Regions from separate parts of the Homo sapiens genome. Here all the other regions are linked to region 1. The links are contacts of gene promoters, found by promoter capture Hi-C in blood cells and fetal thymus (Javierre and others, 2016). All regions are on one chromosome and are shown on one strand. Each heading gives the region's core, a stretch centred on a gene start or on the middle of the fragment in contact. The rest is flanking DNA. Distances are from core to core; before and after follow the strand shown.

The links. Contacts are between HindIII fragments. The CHiCAGO score rates a contact against its expected background, and 5 or more counts as called.
Region 2: a contact is called between a fragment that was not itself captured here and the fragment with the promoter of CHL1 in region 1, in 2 of 17 cell types (naive B cells and total B cells). The highest score is 11.3, in naive B cells.
Region 3: a fragment that was not itself captured here is called in contact with the fragment with the promoter of CHL1 in region 1 in 2 of 17 cell types (naive B cells and total B cells); the score reaches 11.7 in naive B cells.
Region 4: a contact is called between a fragment that was not itself captured here and the fragment with the promoter of CHL1 in region 1, in 2 of 17 cell types (total B cells and naive B cells). The highest score is 6.0, in total B cells.

The regions. Positions count from the first base shown.
Region 1 is chr3:195,296-199,365 of GRCh38, reverse strand. CHL1 (cell adhesion molecule L1 like) reads right to left here and starts at 2,603. Exons shown (of 28, transcript NM_006614.4): 1 at 2,303-2,603. It overlaps CHL1-AS2 (CHL1 antisense RNA 2), which reads left to right and starts at 2,025. Exons shown (of 4, transcript NR_144487.1): 1 at 2,025-2,399; 2 at 2,858-2,910; 3 at 3,326-3,370; 4 at 3,452-3,608. The HindIII fragment of the contact is 3,854 bases long and covers 432-4,070 here.
Region 2 is chr3:238,480-242,848 of GRCh38, reverse strand. All of the region lies in intron 1 of CHL1 (cell adhesion molecule L1 like), which reads right to left. Among named protein-coding and RNA genes, the nearest start is that of CHL1-AS2, 43 kb to the right of the region's middle. The HindIII fragment of the contact is 8,450 bases long and covers 1-4,369 here.
Region 3 is chr3:254,361-258,716 of GRCh38, reverse strand. All of the region lies in intron 2 of CHL1 (cell adhesion molecule L1 like), which reads right to left. Among named protein-coding and RNA genes, the nearest start is that of CHL1-AS2, 59 kb to the right of the region's middle. The HindIII fragment of the contact is 2,746 bases long and covers 296-3,041 here.
Region 4 is chr3:152,379-156,590 of GRCh38, reverse strand. No RefSeq gene overlaps it. Among named protein-coding and RNA genes, the nearest start is that of CHL1, 42 kb to the left of the region's middle. The HindIII fragment of the contact is 1,168 bases long and covers 2,206-3,373 here.

The DNA.
Region 1 (4,070 bases), core at 1,354-3,853:
CATATATTCATCATCATAGTCTTGTGCTGCAGTGAAGTGGGTACAAACATACCCTGAAAGAGATTTTAATGAGTTGCCATAGCCAGTACTCACACCCATCCAGTAATAACTATTTGTCTCCATTGATTTGCTCACAATATTCAGGAGCTTGCAAGGAATGATTATACACTACGTTCTGCCATTACTAAAGGTAAATCCACTGCAGCACTTAAGGCCATAAAATGGAAAGCCAGGGTATACATAGGCTCTGTAACCACGTTAAATTATGAAAGCCAAATGGTGGTCCCTCACAAAGAGACTGAAATTAAGACAAACCCAACTGCAACATCTGCAGGTGAAAGAGAAAACACAAAGATTTACAAAAGAAAAACTCTGGGATAAACTTTTTATTTTCTTGTCACCAAAAGTTTCCCCAAAGAGCTTCCTAAGCTTCTCTCTCCATCAATATACTGAAAAGCCAACTTCATCGGCAGTTGATCAGTTTCTCTCTTCCAATCTGCTGCAAGGCAGAGCTTCGTAGGAGTTGGACTGTGCAGTACAAATATTCATATTTTAATTAAGATTATTCTCCAAAATTAGAAAACGCAGAATTTTTACTTCAATGAAAATGCAGAGAAATGAAAATGCACCATATGTAATTAAACTGAGGATTAACTAACAGTAATGGCATCAACGACAATAACTTTTGAGTGCTTATTATGCATCAAATATGCATATGGTGTTAAATTTAAAAATCTATGGTGTTAAATTACTTGTATCATCTCATTCCAGTCTTGCAACAACCCAGTATAGAGGGTATCGATAATCTCCGTATTATTGAGAAAGGGAAACTGAGGCACGTAGTTAAATGCCTAGTCCAGAGTGACGCATCACAGTGATGGTGGAGCTGGAATTCGAAGCCACGTGGGCGTCCCGGGAGCCTCCGCCTAGAGCGAGCCCGGGGGGCCCACCAGTTACCATCGCCACGCGCACGCGCAAATCTCCCCGCGCACGGCGCGTTCCCGCGGGAGCGCGCCCTCGCGCACGCGCCTGGCAGGGCAGCCGCTCGCCGGCCCTGGGGCTGCTCCGCGGCTCCCACGAGCGGGACTGGACGCCGGCGCCCTTCGAGGAGGGGCTGAACCTGGGGCGCCCTCTCTGCCGGGCCACCCAGCCCTGCCGACGCACACCTGCCCTCCGCCGCCGGCCTCCCACCCCTTCCCCGCCCGCCTTCCCGCCCAGCAGCCCAAACGCCCACCCTGCGCTCCACCCTGCTGGCCGTCTGGGGCGGGGGTACCTGGGCCCGCGCGGCTGCTGCTCCTCCGGCCCGTGGTTTTTCGCAGGAGTTCCCCGGCCCTGCCCCTGGCTGAGACACTGTGGCTCGCAGCGAGCCCGGAGAGTGGGAACGGAGGGGCTGGCTTTCCCCAGCCTCCCGGCTCCAATCCCTGCTCCCCAAATTAATCACTTTCTCCGTGCTGCCTCCCCACGCACACTCACACTCCAAAAAAAAAAAAAAAGCGAGAGAAAGAGAGAGGCACAAAGAGGAAGAAGGGACCATCCGCGACCGGCATCTCCAGCCCCCCGGGCTCCGCTACCAGGAGCCATGGCAACCACGGCCCCCGGCGCGCCCTCTCGCCCCTCGGCGGTCTGGGGAGGTGGAGCTCTAGCCCCTCTCTGGGTTTTCGTGCTCCCCAACCCCACAACCCCACGGTCCATGGATTCCCCGCTCCAGGCTGGCGGCATTTTCGGAACCCCCCCCGGGCTGGGATCTAGAATCCTCTCCTGAGAGGAGGAGCCACACAGGGGCAGTGGACTGGGGGGGTCTGAGCCCCACACACCAGGCGGTGTCCAGGGGAGCGAGGGGCGCGGTGGGAGACAGAGGCCGGGACTGACCCCCAGACCAGCTAGACCTCGGAGCCCCACCCGAGAGAGGGCGGAGATCTACGGGGGGGTCTGGAATCCTCCTCAGAGAGCAGCGAGGGATGGGGTGGCGGAGGCTGGAAGCGGGAGGGCCAACCTACCGGCGGCCGGCGGGCGTGAGTGGGACCCGGCGGATTCGGGCGCCCGGTGTGCTCCGTCGACTGACCCCGAGCTGTCCGAATCCGGCCTCGGCCACCGGGGGCGGGGCGTGAAAAGGGGGCGTCTCCTCCCGGGTGCAGGCTGAGGGGCCCGGACCACCCCCACTGCGGACGAGGGACCCTGACCGCGCCCCGCTTCCTTTCCATAACGAGTGGACCCCTCCCGGAGCACCTTCAGCCCTTCCTCCACGGGAGACCCCCCCAGCGCCGGCACGAGAGATGCCAGCGGACCCCCACCCCTGACACACCTGCGCCGCCTCCGAAACGCGATCTGTCCGGCGCCTCCCCTCGGGCGCCTTCTCCCCCGAGCCGGCCGGGAGCCGGGACGGGGGCGCGCAGGGTCCGGTAAGCTCTGGGCGGATCCAGGGAGGGTCTCGCCGGCCGCTGCCCGCTGGTCCGCACCCGGGGCTGTCCGCGGAGGTCCCGCCCGTCCCCTCCCGCCGCTGGCTCTCTGGCCGCGGGAAGGCTGGAGCCGTTCTGGCTGGCACCGGGGTCTACGCCCTCCTGCCGGAGGCTGGCTCTCGCCTCTGCTCCCTTCCTGGGTTCTGCGCCGCCACCCCTCACCCACGCCGCTTATCTTCCCTCCCTTTGCACGCTCCCGCGGGACAGGGAGAGTTACAGGCTTCAGACTTTATCTCGTTGTGGAAAGCAAGAGACCAAGCCAAAAACTTTGGTCGTGCTTTTCAACATCTCCGGTCAAAAGAGGTAGGATCCCTGCTCGTTTATCTGCAAAAGCGACATTTAAAAGAAACGCCCCCCACCCCCTCCCCGATGGTTTCACTCGGTTCATGTTGCACACACAGGTCGCCAATCTGCTTTTCTCCCATTGCTGCGTCTTAGAGGGGTGTGGTGCCATGTACGTATTAAAAATTGTCTTCTTGCTTTCCTTCATTTAAGGGCGTGGTGGGGCTTGCTATTGAATTTACAAAATATGCTACGACCATCCGCTGTCAAATTGTGCATGCTTAAATTTACAGATCTTCTACTATCTCACAATTTTTGCCCTAATACAGAGTCTATAATGTTACCACATCGTTTCGTAACGTTTTTCCTACTTATCCTTTATTAATTCACTATTGGAGAGGAAAGCCTTCTGTACTCATATTCAGTGCAAAAAGCCAGTTCTGATGCCTTATGAATCCACAAACACATAAAAATATTTTAGGATTCCAAAATTCATATGGAAAAATTATAATTTTTAGCACTACATTTGATTTATATGCCACTTTATTTTTTTTCCATTATGGTGGTATTTTCCAAAATTTTTACAGGATACCACTTTTGAAAATCCTGTTGAATGCAAGTCCTCTTTGTTGGTAAGAGAATTATTGACTTCTAATTTTTACTCCACTAAGGCTGTGAGATTGACCTTACAGCCTCGTTTTGTTTTCATCTAGCTCATTGAACAATGAGGATATTTAGCTCCCCTCAGAGCTACCCTCAGAGTTGGATGAGCTATCCTCAGAGTTGGATGCCACCACCGGGAGCAGCAAAAGCGAAGGCAACTCATGATTCTGCCTCAGAAGCAATCGAATAAAATATTTTGAAAATGAATGAATGGACTTTTAAATTTTAATCATCGCTAACCTTGGGGCCTCGATTCTGTCAATTTGTGTGTGGGCACAGTTCTTACCAACTGCCTTGGCAAATTGTGAATGCAAGTGAGGGCAGGATTTGTCCTAAGTTTAAATTGTACTGCTGGAGTGATTTCTTTTGCCTGAGGCATCATTATTCACGTGGCATGTTTTCTAAAGTAGAAACAAAGATAGAATATTAAATAAAATTCCAACAGGGGGAAATACTCTGCCTGTAGAAAAACATTTCCAAGGTCAAGGAACCACAAGAGAACAACAAAGCGAAGTTGGTCTCAGGAGTTTACCATCTTCTGGGTGAACAAACATCAGCTGAGCAAGGGACTCGGAACTCCATTTTGGCCAGATGAACAGAGTACTCTTAAATATATAGCTCCTTCTTTCTTGGTGATTTGTTTCTTGACAATAGAATCATTATTTACAA
Region 2 (4,369 bases), core at 1,870-4,369, 43 kb before region 1:
CTGTAGCTATGATCAAACTTATTTGTATGCTCACAGCAGCAGCCTACGCCCACAGAGCTCTCATCTGCTTCCTTCAGCTTTGGTTCAGAAGGCATTCACATTAATCATGTATGTAAGTTCCTTGCTACTAATCTAATCTCTCTCTCTCTCTGTGTGTGTGTGTGTGTTTGTGTGCATGTGTTCTTAGTGTTTATTGTAAATGAAGAATTATCTCTGTATTATTTTATTTTATTTTATTTTATTTATTTATTTTGAGATGGAGTCCCACTCTGTTACCCAGGCTGGAGTGCAGTGGCACAATCTCGGCTCACTGCAAGCTCTGCCTCCCTGGTTCAAGCCATTCTCCTGCCTCAGCCTCCCAGGTAGCTGGGACTACAGGCGCCCACCACCACGCCGGGATAATTTTTTGTATTTTTAGTAGAGACGGGGTTTCACCGTGTTAGCCAGGATGGTCTCGATCTCCTGACCTCGTGATCTGCCCCCCTCAGCCTCCCAAAGTGCTGGGATTACAGGCGTGAGCCACCGCGCTCAGCCAGTCTCTGTATTATTAGGTTTTCTTTCATTCCTTCATGTTGTAGGTGCATGATCTCTGGAAAGAGATGCACAGACCATCCTTTAGAATGAAACAAGAAATATGGAAATATATACACACACATATATATATACATACACACACATGTACTTATGGTTTTTCATCTCATTTTTAAACATTTCTCTCCTTTTAATCTTTTCTTATGATAAATTTTAGCATACTAGTGTCTCTGTACAATTTAGGATATACATATAGTGGAGGGATAGACTCAAACACTATTAGATAAGGGTATATACACAATACACTACTATAATCTAAGAAAACGTCTTTCTAATTTTGTTTTTGTTATATTAACATGACATACAATCCTTTGAATTTATTTACTCTAGAAAGCATTTACCCTTTCCCTCACCACCATTGACATAGATACTAACGTCTTACTTATTCTCTGTTATTAGTGAAAAGTTGTTTTTTTTTCAAAGTCCCTTAGTTTCTTTTACTTAAGAGATACAAATAAATATACCCACCAAATGTAAAACAAGAATGGAGAGGAATATTAAAAAGAAAATATTAAAAAGAAAGTAATTTAAGGCGAAACAACATTTGGGTCCTTATTGGTTGTGTGCTTTGTAACTAAGATTTAAAAAGTATGACTGAAAGAAAATATAGTATATGCACAAAAAAACTAGTTAAATTAAACTCTACTGACTTGAGGCAAAGTAAAAAAAAAAACCAGAGAGAAGTATACTGGAAGGAGAAACAGCACTTGCTGAAGAGCAAGATACAGTAAAAACTGGGTTATGAGGGTACACTCAGCAAACAACCTACCCATGGCTGGTGTAATATGAGAGCTGCGGATCAGCGGAAGTCAGGGTCACTTGTTTTCTGAATATGAGCATGTTGTGACTCTGAAGTTATCTAATATTTCAAAGTAGTACTTTTCACACAACATACCCTCTACATCAAACCTATGACTTCATTAGATGCTCAGCAAGAGAAATGGTGATTGCTTGCCATGCTGGAAGAAAACTTGGCTTCACAAGACATTTTGAGACATGTCATTTTATGACATGACTCCTTTCTAAGCTATTTATAAGATAAATTTCTCCTTATGCACTGAACTGACAACAAATCATAAGTAATTTGAAACTCCATCTAGACAAAATTAACTAAAGGCCTAACAGCTATAAATATTCCTACTTCCTTTATTCTGTATTTAACATAAGAAATCTTGAGTTCCATAAGGGCATATATTAGTTGTACCAATGTCACTGCCTGGCACCATAATAAAACATAATATATACTCTTTGGATAAGGCCATAATCACCAAAACAGCATGGTACTTGTATAAAACTAGGCACATAGACCAATGGAACAGAATAGAGAACCCAGAAATAAACCCAAATACTTACAGCCAACTGATCTTCTACAAAGCAAACAAAAACATAAAGTGGGGGAAAGAACACCCTATTTAACAAATGATGCTGCGATAATTCGCAAGCCACATGTAGGAGAATGAAACTGGATCCTCATCTCCTACCTTATACAAAAATCAACTCAAGAGGGATCATGGACTTAAATATAAGACCCGATACCTATAAAAATTCTAGAAGATAACGTCAGAAAAACTCTTCTAGACATTGGCTTAGGCAAAGGCTTCAAGACCAAGAATTCAAAAGCAAATGCAACAAAAACAAAGATAAATAGGTGGGACTTAATTAAAGAGCTTCTGCTCAGCAAAATGAACAGTCAGCAGAATAAATAGACAACCCACAGAGTGGGAGAAAATCTTCACAATCTATACATCCAACAAAGGACTGACATCCAGAATCTACAAGGAACTCAAACAAATTAGCAAGAAAAAAACAAAAAATCCCATCATAAAGTGGGCTAAGGACATGAATAGACAATTCTCAAAAGAAGATATACATATGGCCAACAAACATAAGAAAAAAAATGCTCAACATCACTAATGATCAGGGAAATGCAAATCAAAACTACATCTCTGTACCACCTGACTCCTGCAAGAATGGCCATAATGAAAAAAATTTAAAAAATAGTGGATGTTGGTGTGGATGCAATGGAAAGGGAGCACTTCTACACTGCTGGTGAGAATGTCAACTAGCACAACCACTATGGAAAACAGTACGGAGATTCCTTACAGAACTAAAAGTAGCTCTACCATTTGATTCAGCAATCCCACTACTGGGTATCTACCCAGAGGAAAAGAAGTCATTACACAGAAAAGGTACTTGCACATGCATGTTTATAGCAGCACAATTCGCAATCGCAAAAATGTGGAACCAGCCCAAATGTCCATCAATCAACAAGTGGATAAAGAAATTGTGGTAAATATATATGATGGAATACTACTCAGCCATGAAAGGAGGAAATTAACCGCATTCACAGCACCCTGGATGGAGCTGGAGACGATTATTCTAAGTGAAGTAACTGAGGAATGGAAAACCAAAAATCCTATGTTCTCACTCTTAAGTGGGAGCTAAGCTATGAGGATGCAAAGGCATAAGAATGACTTTGGGGACTTGGGGGAAAGGGTGGGAGTGGGGTGAGGGATAAAAGACTACAAATTGGGTTCATTGTATACTGCTTGGGTAATGAGTGCACCAAAATCTCACAAATCAGCATAAAAGAACTTACGCAACCAAATACCACCCGTTTCCCAAAAGCCTATGAAAAAATAATTTTAAAATATATATATTTTATATATATACTGTTTAGATGAATTAAAGAATGAATGCATTAAAGCTACACATATCAATTAATAGTAGTATTCATAGTTCCTTCACCTTACAGTCACAAGTATGAATGTCATAGCTTCATGGAGCAGGAGGGAGCACATTACCACCACAGTGTCTGTCAAAAGAGATGCTGCAGCAGAGAAAAAAGGGACAGACAGACTGAAAACGGAGCAAGTGTGCACTTACTTGTTGTGCGATCGTAAGCTAATCAAGTAGCCTTTTAGAACTCTAGTTGTCTCATTGGTAAATAAGGGATAATAGTATCTGTTTTGCAGAATGGCTTGGAGGAATGGTACTAACATGCAAAAATTGCTTAGCACTAGGCTGAGATCTAGCCGGTGCTCTGTGATAAGCAAGGGGCAGCTGCGGTAGCAGCAGCCACATCACTGTTCTGATTGATGATGTCCAGTGAAGCCGGGAGGGACACTTGAGATCAGTCTCCGGGTTCCCCCTACTTGACAGTCCCCACTCAACTCAGCCATCAGGAGGAAATCACACAGTACCCCACGTGGTAGCATATGAACCTTGACAGCTGCTATATAAGCTACATGTGTGAGCAGCTACATGCCTTATTCTCACAAGACAAAAAAAAAAGATTTTTTGTTTTGTTTTGTTTGTTTGTTGTTTTAGAAGTCTTGCTCTTGTCACCCAGGCTGGAGTGCAATGGCGCGATTTTGGCTCACTGCAACCTCTGCTTCCTGGGTTCAAGCAATTCTCCTGCCTCAGCCTCCTGAGTAGCTGGGATTACAGACACCCGCCACCACATCCAGCTATTTTTTTTTTTTTTGTATTTTTAGTAGAGACGGGGTTTCACCATGTTAGCTAGGCTGGTCTCGAACTCCTGACCTCAGGTGATCCACCCACCTCGGCCTCCCAAAGTGCTGGGATTATAGGCGTGAGCCACTGTACCTGGCCAGAAAAGGGTTTCTTTACAATGTTTTATGCAAGATTTTGAGTTCCTTAAGTCCAGGTCGGGGAAAAATGATCTTATTAATTTTTGCCTTCCTAGTACTCAAGCACAATTGCTGTCAGATTGCCAAATATTGGTTGCTTAATACACATATGTTGACAAAAAATG
Region 3 (4,356 bases), core at 419-2,918, 60 kb before region 1:
TAAATGCTTCTATTTAAAACTGATTCAGACAAGCTGAGCTTATTCAGAGGCAAGGTCCGAAGATGGAAAAAGGGACTGACATTATCTCATGGACGGAAAAGTTGAAGGAGCTGGAAATGTTTTCTTGAAGAAAAAAATGGCTCAAGTAAGACATGAAATCTATCTTCAAACATGTGAAAGTAATAGAACAGGGTTTCGATTTTAATTTCCATGGTTCCACAGGGGAGAACTGGGGAAAACAAATGAAAATTCTTGAGAGAGAGATTTGAGGCTCCTACAAACATGACTCCAAGCTTGGACTTGAAAGCCCCAAGAGGGAGAGATGTGGAAGTAGATGTTGGCCACAGATTGCAATGGCAATACCCTTCAGTATCCCAAGAGTGGTTGAAGTGAAGGACATCTGAGGTCTTGTTGCCTGAAACAACCTATAACACATGACTCATAATTCTATGATTCATAATAATATGATTGATTTCCCCAAGACACAATATTCTCTCTTAATCTGAGAGGCCTTTCAAACCAGAGGTCATGTTGCTTCTGCCTGGACAGACAGCCATGGGGGAGCAAGTGAACGTTTTAAATTGATGCAGTTGGCCATTAAAAGGGCCCTGCAGGTGTTTTCAAGGTTTGCTCCCTCCTTTGGAGACTGTCCTCTTTCAGCCTTCCTGCGTCACCTCCCATGTGGTCCCACAGTTATGCAAACACATCCAATCCACCGAACATGCTGCCTCTTCCGGAGCCATTCAAGCTGCAATCTCCAGATTCCATCTTCTCCTTCAAGATGAGACAATGTTAACAAAACAAATAAATTCAATGATTTCTTCGCCTATTTAAGTGACATGATTATGATTTTTTTCATATCTGTACGCTACTTGCACTTATTTGTAATTGGCTTACTTTTCTATTTAAATTAAAATATCTTAATATGTTCTCCACTGCTATAAACAGGAAATCAACACTACTTTACATAAAAAATACATGAATTGAAATAAAAACAATTTTAAATAGACCTGTGGCAAGCTGAATCTCTGATTTTGAGGTTTGCTGTCTCTTTATGAAAAAGAGAGCCAGGCACAGTGGCTCACACTTGTAATCCCAGCACTTAGGGAGGCCGAGGCAGTAGATCACCTGAGGTTAGGAATTTGAGACCAGCCTGGTCAGCATGGTGAAACCCCATCTCTACTAAAAATGCAAAATTAGCCAGGCATGGTGGCAGGCACCTGTAATCCCAGCTACTTGGGAGGCTGAGGCAGGGGAATTGCTTGAACCCGGGAGGCGGAGGTTGCAGTGAGCCGAGGTGGTGCCACTGCACTCCAGCCTGGACTACAGAGAGAGACTCTGTCTCACAAAAAAAAAAAAAAAAGAAGAAGAAAAGAAGAAAAGGAGATGGTGTTAAAAATTAGTTATAAAATCATGATAGCACAAAACCAGCCTTTGACTCTACCTGAAATATTGAAAGAATTAAGGGAAAGAGAACTAAATTTTTTTTAAATGCTTTATGTAAGTTTATTATTTAATTATATCTTAGATTACGTATGATCATTTGATATCCCTTCAGTATTTTCCATCCCATAATCTGGTATATACTGAACTAAACAAAGCTAATGCCTCCATATTTGAGGTGACATGAAGCCATACCACTAAAGATACACAGGTGGACAAAACTTTAAGGAATAACTAATTAGAGAATGTGAGACACCATGGAAAATCCATGGAGGAGGCATCTTTAATCCTTACATATTAGGTATCCCCTTGAATGGGAATTTCCATGGAAAGGCAACCACAGAAATACACAGACTCGTGTCTTTGCTCCTAAGCAGCCCACTTTTGCCCAGATTCCAAGGCTGGTAAAATAATGTTGTCTGATTCAAATCATGCCATCACTCAGTCATCCAAAAACATATTTAGCAACTACTGCATGCTGAGCAAGCTCCCAGGCGCCAGAAATACAATACCAAAAAGATACATATGAATCCTCCCCTCGTTCCCAAATTTTCATGGGAATTTTATGGGCCAGGATGACTAATACAATTCTCTAAGCCAGAGTTTCTCAACCTCAGCATGATTCCATTTGGGGCAAGATAATTCTTTTTGGGCATTCAGTTGTCCTGAGTGTTGCAGAACATGTAGCAGCATCTTTGGCCTCTACTGACCAGGTGCAAGTCTCTCCCTCATTAGCGTTAACAGCTAAAAATATTTCCAAATGTTACCAAATGCTCCTGAAGGGCGAAATCACTCCTGGTTGAAAACCACTACTCTAAGGCCTTTTTCTCTGGTCCAAACCAAAGGTACTGAGTTGTACAACTCTAGATAATTCTATTCATATTTATTCTGTGTTAAGTTACCACTTAGAGTGGTGCAATAGCTGTACATCACTCAAAAGGAGGAGCTCTGCTTTACCATGCTATAAGTAAAAATTGCATGCTATGGTAATATACAATAATTTGGAGATTTCATGAAGTGCCAGAATACAGACTACCTATCAAAGTCATACTATATTTTTAAATTTCATTTATCAGTATTGTTTCACTTTCATGTTTCATCTCTTTGTCAGGCACACTTATGCATACACAGAAGCATGAAACCTCCTTACTTCGCTTAGAATATGTTTAGCTCTAAGCAGAACTCAAAGTGAGGAACTAAAGGCATTATTGATAGATGCTGTAGATAATTATAGGTAACTCACTATTCTTTGGGGAATGGGAGCATGAATCCCAGGAATTTTAGAAAGTTGAAAGTGTGGAAGTAGGCAAGGTAAGAAATATCCTCAATCCACAGACACCTTCCTTTTAGATAGTGTAAAAAACCGATGGTTCACAACCCTAGTTGTCTTACAGGACAATGGGTAGACATTAAAAAGAGCAACTACCACGACAAACAAAACAGCTACCTGGGCTCCATCCACTGAGTTAGAGTATCTGTCCAGGGATCCTTAGATCTAAAATATGCTACGGGCAATGGCAATAGGCAGTCAAAGGCGAGAACTACTGTTCTAGGTTGTCAGGAAATACTAGGAAAAAACTATGCAAGAAAATAAAGCTTGAAGTACACAGATGATCCATTTATCTTTGCATTTTTTAGATTTTAGATACCAACTTGCATCCATTGAGCACAGATACTTGCCCAAAATAGAATAAAAATGCTTAGTATTTAGACTTTTTCCCACACATACAGCAGTACAGTTTAGTGTGTATGTATGTATACACACACACACACATACAAAGACACCAAAAGGCTGTCAACAGTGTGTATCTGAGCCTCTCTGTGACCTAGAAGTTACTGAATTCTAAGTTACTTGAATGATCTCTAATTGTAAGTCAATGCAGCATAGAAATCATAATCACTTAAAACGTCTGGAAAGGTTTTTATGATCACATGAAACTCTAGGAAGTCTTCCCTGTTGCCTTTGAATCCTAGCAGCTGGGACTCCAGTCATTTCAGTGAATAAGAAAGAGACTTTTTAACTACAAACAACTGACTAACTGCATAACAACTCTAACTCAAAACATCGTTTTGCCAGAATGCAACCACTGTTTGAGACTGTAATTATGGTAGGAAACCAGTGAGCAGGTTAAGAATGAAGGGGTATATGAATAACATTCTGAAAGGAAAATTAATCTTTCAAGTCTTGAATTCAAATACAAATTCATGCAGCAAAAACGGGCCCCAAAATTCAGAACAATTGTAGCTAGAGATGGAGATAGGCAAATCCTGGTATCTGAGGAAAGGGTAGGGACAATAGGAAATATAACTTTGGCTTCTTTGCATGATGGTAGGGTTTGAATGCATCCCTTCCCAAATTCAAGTGTTGAGACTTAATGGTCAATGTGATAGTATTAACTGGTGGGCCTTTAAGAGGTGATTAGGTCAGAAGGGCTCCTCCCTCATGAATGGGATTAAGGCCCTCAGAAAGGCCTTAGAAGAGGCTTCATGCAGGATTTAGCTAGCTTGCCTTTCCACTTTCCAATATGTGAGGCATGGCTACCTCCACTCTGAAGGAAGCATCGAGAAGGCCCTCACCAGATGCTGATGCCTTGATCTTGGACTTTCCAACCTCCAGAACTGTGAGACATAAATTTCTACTATCCACAAGGTATCCAGTCTGTGGTATTCTATTATAGCAGCACAAAAGCACCAAGATACGTGGCTTATAAGGCCCTGCATAGTCTGATGTCTGCTGCCCTGACAATCATCTCATCACAAGCTCCCTGTATCCCAGCTAAAAAACCTATCTTTAAGACCCTAGAAAATACCTAGCCCTTTCTCAGATCATACCTTGGAACTATACTTCTCCCAGTTTCAGTGGGTATCAGCCCACTTTACCTCCTTAGAGAGGCCATGTCACTAGCTTGGGCA
Region 4 (4,212 bases), core at 1,540-4,039, 43 kb after region 1:
AGCTGCCAGGAGATTAACAGGGTTTCGTTACTTATTTTGCCGGAAAATCTTGATGCTCATTTTTTCCCTTATGCACACTTATACACAACACATACATCACACACACACAGTACATGTGTATCATAGCATGTGTGTGTACTCACTGACAGGCTGCCTGTGCAATGAGATTTTAGGAACTCTAGGAAGGGCTCTGTTTTCCTGGCTTCATGAACTGTAATGCTTTCATGCTCTCAAGATTGCCTTTATAAGAAACCACACCTTTATGTAAGTAACATTTATCCCAACTTTATTAATCATCATGATCTGAGCTAGATCTTGGGTGAGAGGACTCAGGATAAAGAAGGCTAGGAAAAGGAAATTCACGGGCAGCAGTACCTGAGGGTGCCAGCAGGAAACAGAATGTAATCAAAAGTTTAGGAGACATTAAGAATGAGAATATTTACTGATATGTACGTAAGTTAAAGAAAACAAAAACGGATGTTGAGGCCTAGACCATAGCAATGGCAGGAAGCTGTTACAACTCTTAAGCTTGAAGCATGGAGAGGAGGAAATAATATTATTGGAGACCAGAGTGAAATGCAATTTTGGAGGAAAGGCTGCCTGGTAAGAGCTTTAAGTTGTGGAGGCATGCAAACTCTGTAAGAAAATGCAGCCCAGAGCAGGAAGGAATCAAGGGGAGAAACAGACCTTCTACTCTCTCTGTCTGTACATAGACCTGCCAGTGACTGGCATCAGCTATATCCTATGTCAGTGGTTTTCAAACTTTAGCATGCATCAGAGTCCTCAGAAAGACTGGTTGAAATATAGATTGCTGGGCCTCACCTACAGAGTTTCTGATTTACTAGCCTTGACGTGGTGCCCCAAAATTTTTAGTTCTATTTAATTTTCTTTTTTTTCTTTTCCTTTTTTTTTTTTTTTGTAGAGATGGGGATCTTGCTATGTTGCCCAGGCTGGTCTTGAACTCCTGGCCTCAAGCAATTCTCCTGCTTCAGCCTCTCAAAGTGCTAGGATTACAAGCATAAGCCACCATGTCCAGCAAAATTTGCAGTTCTAATGAAAAAAGTTTCCAAGTGATGGTAATGCTGCTGGTGGTCCAGGAACTTTACTCTGAGAACCACTTGTGTACAGGAAACCAGGCAGCAAGAAATCCCCAGTGATGCAATATATTATATAAGAGATCAACCTCTGAGGCAGGAATAGAGCAGACAAGGCAGGAGTGTGGGTCTGGGGAGAGCCAAAGGAAAACAACCAGCACAAAGAGAAAAAACCAGAAGGCAAATACAATATGAAGTTGGCAGGTTGGATGTATAAAATCTAGTGGCAGAAAGCTGCTGGGAAGGCTTAGTTCTTTAAATCAGTGTGGAGAACAAGGCAAGATCTCAATTCCCATTTGGGAACAGAGGGATGGATCGGGTGTACCAAGAATAAAACAGCCATAGTGCAGTAGTAGGATGAAAAAAGATGCATAGCGGGAGCCCAGGAAGTGAGTTACAAGAAACAAGGCAGGAGATTAATGCAGGGACAGTATCAAGTGTCCTATGATGCTCAAATACTTAACTTTGAACTGCTGATGAAGGACTTCTCCCCATTTTCCTGGTCATATGATAAGATTGGTCCCTGTGTATGATGTGGGAGATTTAACTTTTCCAACTTGTAAAATTGACAAACTGTTCACAGGAACTCAGCCAAATGAATAGAAACTTATTACATATCATACATATAATTAACTTTGCACCGTGGTTTAAATTAATGCTAATCAAAATGTAGATAAAGCACCTGTAGCATCAGCATCACCTGGGAGCTTGTTAGCGCTGCAAAGTGTCAGTCCCTAACTCCACAGATGTTGAATCAGTGTCCCTGGGGATGGGTTCACAAATCTGTAGTTTAACAAGATTACCAGGTGATTCTGATGCACACCAGAGTTTGAGAAGAACTGGTCAAAACAGCTGGCCCTCAAATTGGTTACATACTGGAGTCACCTAAAATGCTTTTTAAAAAATTCTCTGTCCTTATTCCACTCCAGAAATTCTGGTTTAATTGTAATGGGAGGCTCTCAAAGATGGATACATTATCTCTTTATGCAGGACCTTTTGCCATTCCATCATCAAGAGGTGCAGTTTATTTCTCTACCCCTCAAATCTGGGCATGACTGTGTCACTTGTCTTGTCCAATAGGTTGTTAGCCACCATGATGCAAGCAGAAGCTTGAAAAGAATTGAACATTGAGGTGTGATCCTTTTGGCTACCTTTGGAAACCTGAAATCATGTTTTTTGGATAATAAATCTAAACCTGGCTGGCTATTAGAGATATCACATGGAGGAGAAATTAGATGCCCATATAGTTTCAATGGATGAGTCTTCCCTCTCCAGTTAGATTACAAACTCCTTGAAGCCAGAAGAAATGTGTAAACCTCTTTGACATCTCTGAAAGAAACCAGCACAGTGTCAGGCTGACAAAAGAATGCTTAATAAATATTAACTGAAATAATATTGAATAATTAGGAAAAGGGTGGTCATTAGTAACTTGAGTCAATTACACATACCCTTAGTTATAATTACTATTCAAAATTGAACCAATAATTCTGGAGCTTCACAAATTACCATTTTATAGCAGACCAAATTTAGGAAATAAAAATTGTTTCTAAAGGAGAAAAAATGATTCACACTGGTATTTCCTGAGGGTTGTTCGCTTACATATGCCAAGTATTAAATTCTGCTAAAGTATTTCCAGCTATGAGTTTAATTAATCTGGTTCTGCATGCTCTATCACTGCTTTTGAATAATATGTCTTAATATGCAGATTCCCTGAACTTCAGGTCAAATAATAAAGAAAATTCATTAGACAGCAGCTTGTGTGCAACTAAGTGTACCTCTGCAAGAGAATTTTAATAATCAAAGAAGTTGCTGATGTAGGGATATGATAAATCGCTTTGCTACAGGGTAATATAAGCCTCAACTGGTATGATGAATACTTCTGCTTCACAAGGAAAACTGAAATAGTGCAAACTGTTTAAATATGTGTTCCTGATAAATGAAGACAATCATCTGCGAATATTCTAGAGGAGACACACTATGACTTTCATGTTAAAGTGAAATGTCTCTGTAGGAAAAGTGGCTTAAAGGAAGGCCTTTTGAGAAGGGAAATAGATACATAAAAGTATTTAATAGCACCAATGTATTTGTGGTAATATCTTTGGGACAATGATTGTTAAAAATTCATCCCCCAATTCATGATTATCAAACTTAAGAATAATTGGTTTTCAAAATTCTTTCTGAATACTAATTTTCATGGCTGATAATAAAGGAAGGTCTTTAACAACTGAAATCCCTGAGGTTTAAAATTCATTAACAGACAGGACACTTGTTTCTAAGCTTTCCCCGTATGTTGGTGTTAAAATACGACAAAAAAAAATACCAATTGAAGATTCACTATGGTTGTTTCTGTTTACAACATATAGAACAACAATATCCTGGGATCTAACAAAAATGTGACCAAAGGCTCCAGCAAATTTAGACCCTGAAGGGACATACTTTGTCCTTATCGATGGCAGATGGTGTCTCATATTCTTGTGGGGGCATTCCATTTTATATAGTGTGATTAATCTACACTTTTACCTTTATTAATGCACCCACTCGGTTCATTTTCTTTTGTTGCACTCCTACCTTTCTAAAGTTACTTTATACTTATGTTATTTTTAAATTTTTTCTCTTATCTGTGTTTGCTCTTAACATTATAAATGTTTTTCTTGATGCAACCTTGGCTTCTTTCTACAAGGGGTGTTGTAGTGCTCTTAATACTTTACATTTCCAAATAATTAGAAACTTCGTTTATATAAACACACACACACACATATAAATGTGTTTCATTTTTTCAAGACTTATTTAGAAGTGTGTGTTTATTATAATCTTTCAAGGCATGATATTTGATGATTCTTCAGTTTTTAATTGTCTAACTTTATTACCACTTTATTCAATTTTAAGTCTATATCATTTCTCTTTTGGAGACTATATTGAGATTTTTATTTTTGTCCTAATAAAGATCACCTTTTGTCAGTTTAAAATGTGTTTTAGAATATATTATTTATTGCTTTTTAGAGTTAAAAACAATTAAGTTATACATATTAGTTGTATGAAGCATATTAATCCTATTATTCATATTCACTTTCCTCACTCAGTTATATTGTCAATTAGATATGTCAGTTTCTAAAAGGAA